Linked DNA regions of Homo sapiens: regions 1, 3 and 4 are each linked to region 2. The links are contacts of gene promoters, found by promoter capture Hi-C in human tissues and cell types (Jung and others, 2019). All regions are on one chromosome and are shown on one strand. The core of a region is centred on a gene start or on the middle of the fragment in contact, and the rest is flanking DNA. Distances in the headings are between cores, read along the strand shown. Region 1 holds the start of GCAT (glycine C-acetyltransferase). Region 2 holds the start of MFNG (MFNG O-fucosylpeptide 3-beta-N-acetylglucosaminyltransferase). Region 3 has its middle 7.3 kb from the start of IL2RB. Region 4 overlaps IL2RB-AS1 (IL2RB and C1QTNF6 antisense RNA 1).

Region 1 (2,700 bases), core at 8-2,507, 320 kb before region 2:
TTTTGACCGGCTCTAAGCTTCCCCTGAGGGAGAGAAGGGATTACCTGGGACCTCTGTTTTACAAATGAGTGCAACAGCACCAAGGGTTCTATGCCTATTTCCTGGGCAGAAGGCAGCTTTGGGAGCTTGTTGATGATTACCACTCACCTGAGGCCTGACACGAATAAGTCAGGTGTAACCACTGGTTAGAGTGAAATGAGGGAGGGCTGGGAGTGGTGGCTCACGCCTGTAATCCCAACACTTTGGGAGGCTGAGGCGGGAGGATCACTTGAGGTCAGGAGTTCGAGACCAGCCTGGCCAACATGGTGAAACCCAGTCTCCACTAAAAATACAAAAATTAGCCGGGTGTGCTGGCACGTGCCTGTAGTCCCAGCTACTTGGGAGGCTGAGGCATGAAAATCGCTTGAACCCGGGAGGCAGAGGTTGCAGTGAACCGAGATCTCGCCACTGCACTCCAGCCTGGGCGACAGAGCAAGACGAGACTCCATCTCAGAAAAAAAAAAGGAAAGAAAGAAATGAGGGAGACCTGGCAGGGCCAACTCATCATGTGATTTCTGTGGCAGCCCTGGGACCCCTTGCTTGCTATGAGTTTACCCAGCAAGCTGTCCTCTCTGGCCAGTCAGGCAATGTTCCAGCTCCAATATTCCAGCGCTGCCTGCAGCTAGCTGGGGGCTTTTGGGCAAGCCATTTCACATCTGTGGATTTCAGCCTCTTCGTTTGTAAAGTGGAATTAGTCATTCCTGCGTCTAGAAGTTAGCAGGAGTTCACGTGCAGCAACAATTGGTAGAGACCTTCACAAAGGAGCCGCTCAAGAAATGCGGGTTTTCTTGCTGGGCAAATCGCCTCCCTCCGTCAAAAGGGTTTAACCAGGCAAGAGTCAATATTAGGAAGCCATAAAGTCGCCCTGAGAGATGCGAAGGGGAACAGTAGCTAAGAGTGTAGGAGCCGCCCACCCCCACCTCCAGGACCTCCATTCCAGCGCAAGCTCGGGAAAGGTCTTGGAACGACTCCCGGAACGGAGCGTTACCTCCGGAGACGCCGTCCACGCGGATGTGCGGCCCCTGACGGGACGTGATGACCCGCTCACTCTTCCAAGTGCCAGCTCCGCGGATGCCTTCCAGCTCCCCCTCCAGAATGCCACGCAGCTGGGCCAGCGCTGACTGTGCGCGGCGGCCGCGGGGCACCCAGAAGAGTGCGGCGCGCCAGGCGTTCCCAGGCCACATCGCTCCTACCTCGCCCGAGCGCGCCTGCCTGCCTGGGAGCCGTGCGCATCGCGGACGCAGCCTGGTCGCGTGGCCGGGGGCCGGGCTCCAGCAGCCAATCGGAGCTAGGGGGGCTCGCTTAAAAAGGCGGGGAGGCGGGCCTAGGACGGGTGGGCGGGGCCTGGCGGGATCCGCCAGGGACCGAGAGGCTTGACTTGTAAGTTGAGACTGCCGAAGTCCGGATGGCAGAGGGGAGGGAAGGGGGCGGAGGAAGTCGCGTCAGGGCCAAGCCCACCAGACTCCCCACCGCATTCCCACGTACTCACCTCTCGGCCGGAAATGGGGTACCCTCTGGACCCCAAAGGCAGAAGCCTAGAAGCCGGCTAAGGCACGTTCCGCAGCCTCCGGGACTAAGGATTCCTGGCTTCTGTCCAGCTCCTGAACCCTCCCCCGCCATTCTCAGGTGCAAACGCCCCAGATGTCCCCACTGCCTGCCCGCCTAACCGCTCCGCATTCATTCTCCAGTCTTCAAAGTGAGGAAAAATACACCGCTCAGTTTCTCCCTTTTCCAATTTATTTTAAAGTTTTAAAATTACAAAGACAGCAAAATTTTCCCGGCACAAGTAACACTTGTTTAAAAAAGGGGGTGGGGGGGGGACGCGCAAGTGCGCGATTTTTCTATTTTATTAAAAATAAGAGAAAGACAACTGTACAGGTTTTTTCTCCCAGCTCCCGGGTGTGAAACTAAGTACTAGCCCTAGATATGTATATATACACAAACACACACATGCACACAGATCTAGCTCTGTAAAACTACTTAGCAAATCCCAAATCGACTGCAGTAAGTCTTACTATCCACTGCCCGCCCACTCCCCCTCCCCCTCCCGCAGCTACAACTACTTATAATAAAGGACTCAAAAAGAGATCGGGAGGTTTTAAGTGGCCGCAGCCCCACCAAACCAAGCAAAGACACCTCTTGTACAGGAGGAACAAAAATCCAGAGGAAAAGAAAAGTCTTCCTAGGACACAATCCATCGATTGCGTGGAAAAACCTAAGTTTCAACAGGGCACACTGAGGCACTTGGCTGACTCCCCACCCTTCCCCTGAAGTTTTCACTCCGGTTTAACAAGAGAATTTGCTGAAGCCACAAAGATCCCCCAATGGCTACATCCTAGCTGACTGGGAGAAACTATGGCTTCTCCCATCCAGCTGTCACTTGGACCCCACTCCCCTTCCCTAAGAAAATAGGGAGGCCGAAAGCGCAAACTAACAAAAATGAGAAGGAAACTGGGTTTGGGCCCCCACTGCTCACCACTGGGAGGTGGAAGTCAGCCCGGTGGCGGTTTTTTTCCCCCTCCTTCCTTTGCCGGCTGGCTGCTCCCTACCACCTCTCTCCTGCTGGCCAAAGGTTCTGAAACTCTCACAACGGGTGCCCAACTCAAAGAAAACTCACTCACCCTAAAGATATTCCTGCTAACCTCACAATTCCTGGGTTCC
Region 2 (2,700 bases), core at 94-2,593:
CCACCTGGTACTTTGTTGTGTTGAATTAACATTGATTGAGTTCTTGTCTGCCGGTCACTGTTCTAGGCACTGGGGATTAGGGACTCAGTGATCAAAAAATAAATCCTGCCCTGATATTCTCATGAGGAGGACAGAAACTTAGTTAAACATACAGAATGTTGGAAGATGAAAAGTGTGATGAAGAAAACAGTGAAGTGGCTTGAGAGGGACAGGCCTGGGGGGCTGGGAAGGAGGCGGCGAGGGGTTGCAATGTTAATAACGTGGTCAGGGAAGGCCTCACAGAGACGGTGACCTTTGTGTAAAGACCAGAAGGGAGTGGGGGAGTGAGACGTGCAGGTCTCTAGGGAGGGGCCCAGGTGGGAACAGCAAGTGCCAAGGTCCTGTGGCGGCCAGGTGCCTGGGCCAGCGAGGGTCCCAGGTTCTGGAGTGGAGCAGGGTGAGTAGCAGGAGATGGGGTGGGAGTAACTTGGGAGCCAGCTCACGCAGGGCCTTGTGGGCTGCTGTGTGCGTTTTGGCTTTTGTTCTGAAGAAAATGGGAGCCAGTGCAGGCTCTGAGTGGAGGAGGGAGGAGGTGTGAGTGAGCTTGTGCGAAACAAGATGGAGGTGGTGGCTGGAGAAGGCCCTCTGTCTGTCCACTGGTCAGGTGCTGGGAGAGAGGCAGCTCCAGAGACTGCGGAGTGAGGTCGGGTATGGGCTGGGGCACAGCTGGACAGGTGCCCTCAGGGGACCTCCTGTGAACTAGATGAGGAACAGAGACCTGGGTTCTGCCAGCTCTGCGGCTGAGTTGCTGGATCGTTTTTGCTCATTCTGTGCCTTTGTGCCTTATGTCTTCAGCTATAAACTGGGAACGACAGTCCCAGTGCTGTTGTGAAGACCTCAGGAACTGAGCGAACAACTGTGGGAGCCCCAGAGGTTAAGAGGTTATCACGGAAGGCTTCCTGGAGGAGGGAACCCTTAAGCTTTGAAGTCCAGATAGAACTCAGCCTAGTGGAGGGAATGTGGGTGAGGCTGGTGGAATATGGGAGAGCATCCCGGAGGAAACCTGTGAGCAAAAGCTGGGGGCTGGGTGAAGCAGGACACCAAAGTAATGGGTGTTGAATGGGCCGAGCTGACAGCTCTCTGGGGGAGTGGACGGTGCTGGAGGACACTCCCTTCCACCGGGCACGGAGGGTTTGTTGTGACTTCCTCCCACCGCAGCAGCTGGCAGAGCCGGGGCTGCCCTTTCTGCTGGTGCCTCCTTTCAGCCGCCTCTGTCTGGGGTTCCCTTCGTCTGGCCCCGCCCCTCGGGCTAAGCGGGGCGGGGCCAGGCGGTCCCGGAGGCTGCGGCAGGCCGGACAGCGGGAGCAGGTGGAGGACTGGCGGCGGTCGAGATCGTGCTGCCATGGCTCAGCCTCTGGGTCCAGAGCCTCAGCTCCTACCTCTTCCCTCCTTGCCAGCCCCTGATGCCTGCCAGACTTTTGCCTCTGCTGGAGCCCCTGCCTGACCAGCTTCCCCTCCCTGTCTGGTTGGGATTTGGGGGCTGAGCTGTCTGGGGTCCCAGGGCCAACCAATGCAGTGCCGGCTCCCGCGGGGCCTGGCTGGAGCCCTCCTCACCCTCCTGTGCATGGGGCTCCTGTGTCTGCGGTACCACTTGAACCTGTCCCCGCAGCGGGTACAAGGGACCCCCGAGCTGAGCCAGCCGAACCCGGGGCCCCCTAAGCTACAGCTACACGATGTCTTCATTGCAGTGAAGACGACCCGGGCTTTCCACCGCTTGCGCCTGGAGCTGCTGCTTGACACGTGGGTTTCCAGGACCAGGGAACAGGTGACAAGTGGGTGACATTGGGCCCTGGGGGTGGCCCCTGGCCTAAGGGGTTCTCAGAGGCCTTTCTACTGGGCTGGGGTCCCTGACTGCCTCATGGGAGAAGCTGCTCAATACCTGCCTAATCAGGGATCCTCTTCCTCTCTCCTTCTTCCGGGCTTTAGGGGCTGCCTGCGGCCCTGCCCGTGCCCTGTACTGGTCCTGACTCCAGGTGCACCCAGGTCCTACCGCTCCACCACTTTTGGGGGCCAGGCTGGGCCCCTGCTCCAGGCTCCCGGGTCCCTCCTGGGGGTTCTTCTATTCCTAGCCGCTCCCGTGGGGGCTTCGCTCCTAGCCACCCAGGCCCAGCCTGGCATCAGGGGTAATGGTGGGTGTTGGGCAGCTGGGGTGGAGGCCTCCAAGAGGTCCTGACCCAGACCCGTGCCCAGGCCAGGCTGTCCCACCCAGGCCCTAGGTGCTGTCCTGCCCGGGCTCTGAGGGTGGAGGACGGGAGGAGAATGGTGGGGTCTGTTCTTGGGGGAGGCATCCCTTCGGCCTTCCCGATAGCCCCTGCCGCTGTGTCTCTGCTGCCCCGGGTGTGCCGAGGCCGCCATGTCTGGCCTCCTGTGTTGGCTTCCTGCGGACTGCTTCCGAGGGAGGGAAGGAGAGCGCATGCCACGAGGGTGGCGGCTGAGGCAGTGGTGGGCCGGAGGTTGGGGAGGCCTGCCTGGCACGTGGGATTGTGTGTGTGTGTGTGTGTGTGCTCACACGCACGGAGCTGGAGTGTGCTAGATGTGTGTGACAAGAGGCATGTCTGTCACATGGCTGTGCGGCTCCGGCGAGCCAAGTCCCTTCCAGCCCTTTCCCTCCTCGCATCCAGTATCTTCCTTAAGCAAAGTTAGTGATGTCGGTGTTAGGGA
Region 3 (2,700 bases), core at 1-2,500, 330 kb after region 2:
TATTTTTTTTAGACGGAGTCTTGCTCAGTCACCCAGGCTCGAGTGCGGTTGCGCAATCTTGGCTCACTGCAACCTCTGCCTCCCGGGTTCAAGTGATTCTTCTGCCTCAGCCTCCTGAATAGCTGGGACTACGGGGTGCCCACCACCACGCCCGGCTAATTTTTTTTTAATTTTTATTTTTGGTAGAGACGTGGTTTTGCCATGTTGGCCAGGCTGGTCTCGATCTCCTGACCTCGTGATCCGCCCGCCTCAGCCTGCCAAAGTGCTGGGATTACAGACATAAGCCACCGCGCCCAGCCCTCCCCTTCCTATCTTGGCATAGCTACGTGGCATTCCACTGGATGGAAGTTCCCTAATTTGCTCATCACCTGTCCCCTATGGATGCGCATTTTGTTGGCCTCGGGTCCCGTGACTGCAGGAGTTACTTTGTACACACGTGTTCAACATGGGTCACTCTGTTGATGAGTTTTAGGTGTGGAATTGCTGGGTCATGTGTCAGAGATGTTGGTAGATGTCAGATTGCCTTCCAGGGAGATGCTTGAAGCCCACGCCAGCAGGGTGACTCGCCTTTTCAACCTGCCTTTGATGGCAAAGCTTTTGAAACTTCAAATATGCTATCCTGGTGTTTTTAATGTGTATTCTCAGGACTCTTCAGGGTATTAGGGACTTAGCACTTTTGATTCTTTCTCTTTTCCTTTTTTCCTTCCTTCCCCTCATATTGACACTGTCCGTATGTCAGGTAATTTTCTGGGTTCTGGAGTGGTGTGGATGAATCCCACACTGTTCCTGTTGTCCAAGAGCTCCTGGTGTAGACTCATAAGCAAGGCTCTGACATGAGATATGGTAACTGGCTTGTGCCCAGAATCTGCCTTGGCCAGAATTGGAGATCAGGGAAGGACTGGTTTTAAATCGGGGAGCTGATTAGTCTGAGTAAGTAGGGTGGGAATATGGTGACCAACTTTGTCCTAGGAATATCACTGTAAATCTTATGTTCTGGAAACCCCCCTCAGTCCCAGGCACAGTGGGACAGCTGGTCACCTTGGCGCGATCCTGGTAAGGAATGGCATGGTTTGCACAAGATAGGAGCTGCTCAGGGCGCTGGTGCTGGTGTGGCTATGAAGCAGGCAGCTCCCGGATGAACAGGGAAGAACGTGGGGCTTCAGGTCTGGAGCCTGGGGGGCTGGCGTGGAGGTGGCTGCTGTGGCAAAGCAGAAGTAAGGGTGATGGCTTGGAAGGAGGGGGTGAGGGAGGGAAGGAGTCAGGGAGAATGGCCACAGTCTGTCTTGGGGACTGGTGGGTGGGGCGCCTCCAGTGAAGAGCAGGTGTCAGCAGAGGGGCATGCTCGGAGGACAGCCCTCAGGAAGTCGGCCGCTAGCCTGCTCTTTCTCCTTGTTCTGCTCTGGCCCCTCTGTGGGCCCCTGCAGCTTTGTGATCCTCATTTGTCATGAGGGGTACCCCACAGTCTGATGGGGACTGGGCGGAGGGTCAGACACCAAATTATGTATACCATAGTCCTCCTGACCAGGGACCAGGACTCAAAACCAGGTCACTGGTGAGGCCTGGCACTGTGGGGGCAGGACTTTTTTTCCAGCTGGGGACTCGGCTACCTGCTGACTTTCCAGAAGACAGGTCACAGCACCGAGCAGGGGTGGGCGGAACACAAGGACTTGAGGGTGGGTGACAGTGTCAGCTGGCTGAGCCAGGGAGGGCAGGAAGGGAGGTGGCCCTGGAGATACTGGAGGTCTTCACAATGGCAGAGGACAGGCGGTGGCAGAGACAGTGAATGGCACCCCCAAACCTGCTCTCCCCTGCCCGTGTGCCCTCTACTTATAGCTGGCTACATCTCCCAGCCTCCTCTGCAGCTTGGTTGGCTATGTGACTCAGGCGTAGCCAATGGGATGTACATTAGAAGTGGCTACGGCAGCTTTGGGGAAGGGTCCTTAACAGGCAGAGGCAAGCCCTCCCTCTCTCCTTCCTTTCCCTTCCATCTGCAGGAACGCAGAGGTGATGGGTGGAGCTTGAATAGCTCTCTTGGTCTATGAGGAGATGGGAGAAGGATATTGAAGAGACCCTAGTAGCAAGCCAGATTTAGCTCAGGATCCTGACATCATAAAGCCACCCCACCTAGCCTGGGTGGCCTCCCTTTGGACTTCTTTTATGTAAGAGAGAAATAAAGCCCTCTCTTATTTTAGGTCACTGTTTTCTTCTTCTGTTCTCTTTGGACACACGCAGCTGAACTTCATCCTAACTGGGACACTGTTGTACAGTGGAGGCGGTGATGGCAGCACGCGGGTGAGCTGAGGTGGAAGTTCAAGGGGTCTTGGTTAACACAGGTCAGAATGATGGCAGGGTGCAAGTGCAGGCCTGGGTGTGGGACTGGTATGGAGCAGTTCAGAGGGAACAGGAGGCTGGAGGCTACAGTGTGGACCCTGACATCTCCTGGGAGGCGGAGTGGAGAGGGAGGCTGAGCGCAAGGGCCAAGCACTCCAGTGAGCAGAGGGAGGACGGGTAGGGCGTTTGGCAGATACCAGGACTGAGGAGGATGCAGTCTGGCTTGGCCCCAAAAAAGACAGCCCAAGGACATCAGGGCTGGAAGACCCCAATATGCCCTTGTCCCATGGCCCCTGTGAAAGAGGGGTCTGGGTCCAGTGGTGGGAGGGCTGTGGGACTGGGTGCATGGAAACAGAGGGTATGAGGCGG
Region 4 (2,700 bases), core at 56-2,555, 310 kb after region 2:
CAGCATAGAGTCAGCCGTGTCACTCTTTGGTTGTGACCTCGGGCAAGTCCCCATATCTCTGCGCCTCGGTTTCCTGTCTGTAAAATGGGGACAATGGTAATCTACCTCATGCGGTGGACATAAGGATCAGATGCCAGGTTGCTTGATGAGTGCCGCGTTCATGCTCAGCATCTGCTGAGCGCCAACTGTGTGGCGCAGAGCTGAGCACCTGTGCCGTTTATGCTCCAGTGAGGCACACGCAAGCCCCCCCACCTCCCGCCCCGGGGACCCTGTCGCATGTTTTGCGTTTAATTATGATGAGAGAACTGTTGGATCTTCTCTGTGGGAAAACACACACTACTACATTGTACAGTGGAGCATCTTGATGGATCTGGCTTTCTTTTTTTTTTGAGATGGAGTCTCTCTGTCACCCAGGTTGGAGTACAGTGGCGCAATCTTGGCTCTCTGCAACCGCTACCTCCCAGGTTCAAGTGATTCTCTTGCCTCAGCCTCCCGAGTAGCTGGGATTACAGGCGCCCACCACCACGCCCAGCTAATTTTTGTATTTTTAGTAGAGATGGGGGTTTCACCATGTTGGCCAGGCTGGTCTTGAACTCCTGACCTTGTGATCTGCCCACCTCGGCCTCACAAAGTGCCGGGATTACAGGCGTGAGCCACCGTGCCCGGCCTGGCTTTCTAATATGTCGTCAAGTTTGGACTCTCTAGGCTAGCCTGGTGGCTACTCACATAAGTATATTTAAAGTGACCGACGCTGATTTCCCAACAGACTTGACCGGGCATCCTGCTCTATCTGTGTTGTCCCTGGTGTGTTGCATGGCTTTTGGGCACCAGGTGGAAGAAGCATGCTATCGAGAACTGACCATACACCTGTGCCAGGATTCAGCCCAGCCCAGCAGCCCACCTTGCAGGGGCAGACAGGTCTCCGTTTCCTCGGAGGTCCCCTGACACTGAAGGGAGGCTTCCCACTGCACCTCAGGGTCATACAGCTCTTGCCAAAGAGGCTCCTCCCATGTCAGAGGCTACCCCGGGGAGCGATCTCCAGCGTGTTTCTGGGCCAGGCTCTATTTGTACACAATCGGCCTCACCAGCCTTGGGACAAAGGCTGTCCTGAGTGCCAGCCAGGAGCCTTTTGTCGTGTACAGCACAAGGATGAGCCATTTGCTGATCGCTGAGGCAGCAAAGCTTTGAAACTTCTTGCCAAGTGCCTGCAGGAGGATTGAAGCTTATCCTTTGTAAACTGAAGCCAAGTCCCCCAGACAGTTCCAGGCCACATTAGTTCAGGGAACAGAGGCCGGCTGTCTTTGTGTCATCCCATCTGACCCACTGCACACATTCCTCCACCCAGGGCTCAGATGTGGCCTCTGGACTGTCTAGGCCAGGTTTTTTTGCGCTAGGTCTGGGTTTCTGACTCAATGGCACCCGGATGGGTGCTAAGAGCCACTAGATCTTTGTGACAAGCTTCTCCCAATGGGCACGTTCTTGGCGGGGGTTGGTCAAAGGTCCTGGGAAACTGGAGGCCCCCAATCCTGCTGCCAGGTCTGTGGGGCACAGCGTCCCCCAGGAGATCTGCCATGCTTAGTACTGATGACCTCAGCAAGCTGGCTGAATGCCCATGTAATCACCTCTGGGGCAATCCCTTTAAGTTACATATTTTGAAAACGTTTTCCGCCTGAAACGTTAGGCAATGAGGAAGGGGAAGGAAAGGGTGGTCAAGAGGGGAAGCAGCCGTGGGAAATGAAAAATACCCCTGACAAGGAGTGTACCCCAGACAGGGCGACCTCACCCCCACCTTGCCATCGTTTTGTTGAGTGGCCCGGGGCAAGTGCAGGGAAGATTAAGGGGGAAAGGGTGATTAGATGGGAGCCTGAGTTAAAATCAGGGGCAGAGCTGGTGCAGGGATTTTAGCTTGATGGTGTCCCTGGTGACCTGCTGTCTGGATAGATGGGCTGGATCCATTTCATGGGCTAGGTTAGGTTGTGTCTGGAAGTGTTCAGCCTTCCTGGGGAGATGAGCGCAGGAGCTCCTCTGCCACATGGGAGTGTGGGGAAGGGAGTAGATAATTCTTATGTGGCGATCTGGGAAGGCTTCTTAGTGGAGGGGACATGTGGGAAGGGCCTTGGAGGGTGAATAGGAGTCTCAAAGGCACTTGACATGGGGCAAGGAGCTGATGAGAGGAAAGGGTTGCAGGCGGACCAATGTAGTCTATGCTCTGGGCAGTGGGAGAGACCAGTAGGTTGGATAGATGTCTGGAAAGGAGGCAAGGAGAGCAGAATGGGGTTTGAGACAGGAAAGGCCTGGAATGTCAGGCTAAGTCTAGGATTGACCTCTTTCTTAGGTGCTGGGGTGCCTTTAAGAGGCAGATCACTCTGCAGCCAGGTGGAGCACAGGCTGCAGAGGGTGAAGCTGGAGGCAGTGAGGGGGCCTGTGCCATGGTCCAGGGGAGGACATAGAACGCCTAGAAACTGGGTGAATCATGATGTCATCCTGGAGGGGGAGGCATGTCCCCAATTGACTTTGAAGTTGGTGAGAGATTCAACAGCAGAGAGGAGGCAGGAGGGCAGCTGGGGGTTGTTGGGGGGACGGGGTCCAGCTTGGATTAAGGGTCTACCAGGGTGTTTCTCCCACAAGGCTTTCGTTAGCCAGTGGGAAGCCAGCAGGCCGGGGTGCCAGGAGGTGGGCTCCTGTGGCAGCTCTGCCCAG

Evidence for each region. Contacts are between HindIII fragments. The study calls those that stand out against the background at their distance.
Region 1: a contact is called between the fragment with the promoter of GCAT here and the fragment with the promoter of MFNG in region 2, in 2 of the 25 tissues and cell types used here (aorta and thymus).
Region 3: a contact is called between a fragment that was not itself captured here and the fragment with the promoter of MFNG in region 2, in 4 of the 25 tissues and cell types used here (dorsolateral prefrontal cortex, lymphoblastoid cells, mesenchymal stem cells and 1 more).
Region 4: a contact is called between a fragment that was not itself captured here and the fragment with the promoter of MFNG in region 2, in 2 of the 25 tissues and cell types used here (lymphoblastoid cells and mesendoderm cells).

Annotation. Positions count from the first base shown.
Region 1 is chr22:37,806,491-37,809,190 of GRCh38, reverse strand. It overlaps GCAT (glycine C-acetyltransferase), which reads right to left and starts at 1,257. Exons shown (of 9, transcript NM_014291.4): 1 at 1,028-1,257. The coding sequence starts at 1,223. H1-0 (H1.0 linker histone) reads right to left here. Exons shown (of 1, transcript NM_005318.4): 1 at 1,759-2,700. RefSeq lists a silencer at 1,153-1,442. The HindIII fragment of the contact is 28,064 bases long and covers 1-2,700 here.
Region 2 is chr22:37,485,027-37,487,726 of GRCh38, reverse strand. It overlaps MFNG (MFNG O-fucosylpeptide 3-beta-N-acetylglucosaminyltransferase), which reads left to right and starts at 1,343. Exons shown (of 8, transcript NM_002405.4): 1 at 1,343-1,804. The coding sequence starts at 1,550. RefSeq lists enhancers at 1-450, 451-962, 963-1,472, 1,949-1,998, 2,399-2,458 and a silencer at 1,249-1,378. The HindIII fragment of the contact is 15,221 bases long and covers 1-2,700 here.
Region 3 is chr22:37,155,867-37,158,566 of GRCh38, reverse strand. It overlaps a transcript of IL2RB not described here. Among named protein-coding and RNA genes, the nearest start is that of IL2RB, 7.3 kb to the right of the region's middle. The HindIII fragment of the contact is 5,288 bases long and covers 1-2,700 here.
Region 4 is chr22:37,177,349-37,180,048 of GRCh38, reverse strand. The region is part of intron 1 of IL2RB-AS1 (IL2RB and C1QTNF6 antisense RNA 1); the gene reads right to left. Among named protein-coding and RNA genes, the nearest start is that of C1QTNF6, 9.5 kb to the left of the region's middle. RefSeq lists an enhancer at 1-423. The HindIII fragment of the contact is 3,359 bases long and covers 1-2,700 here.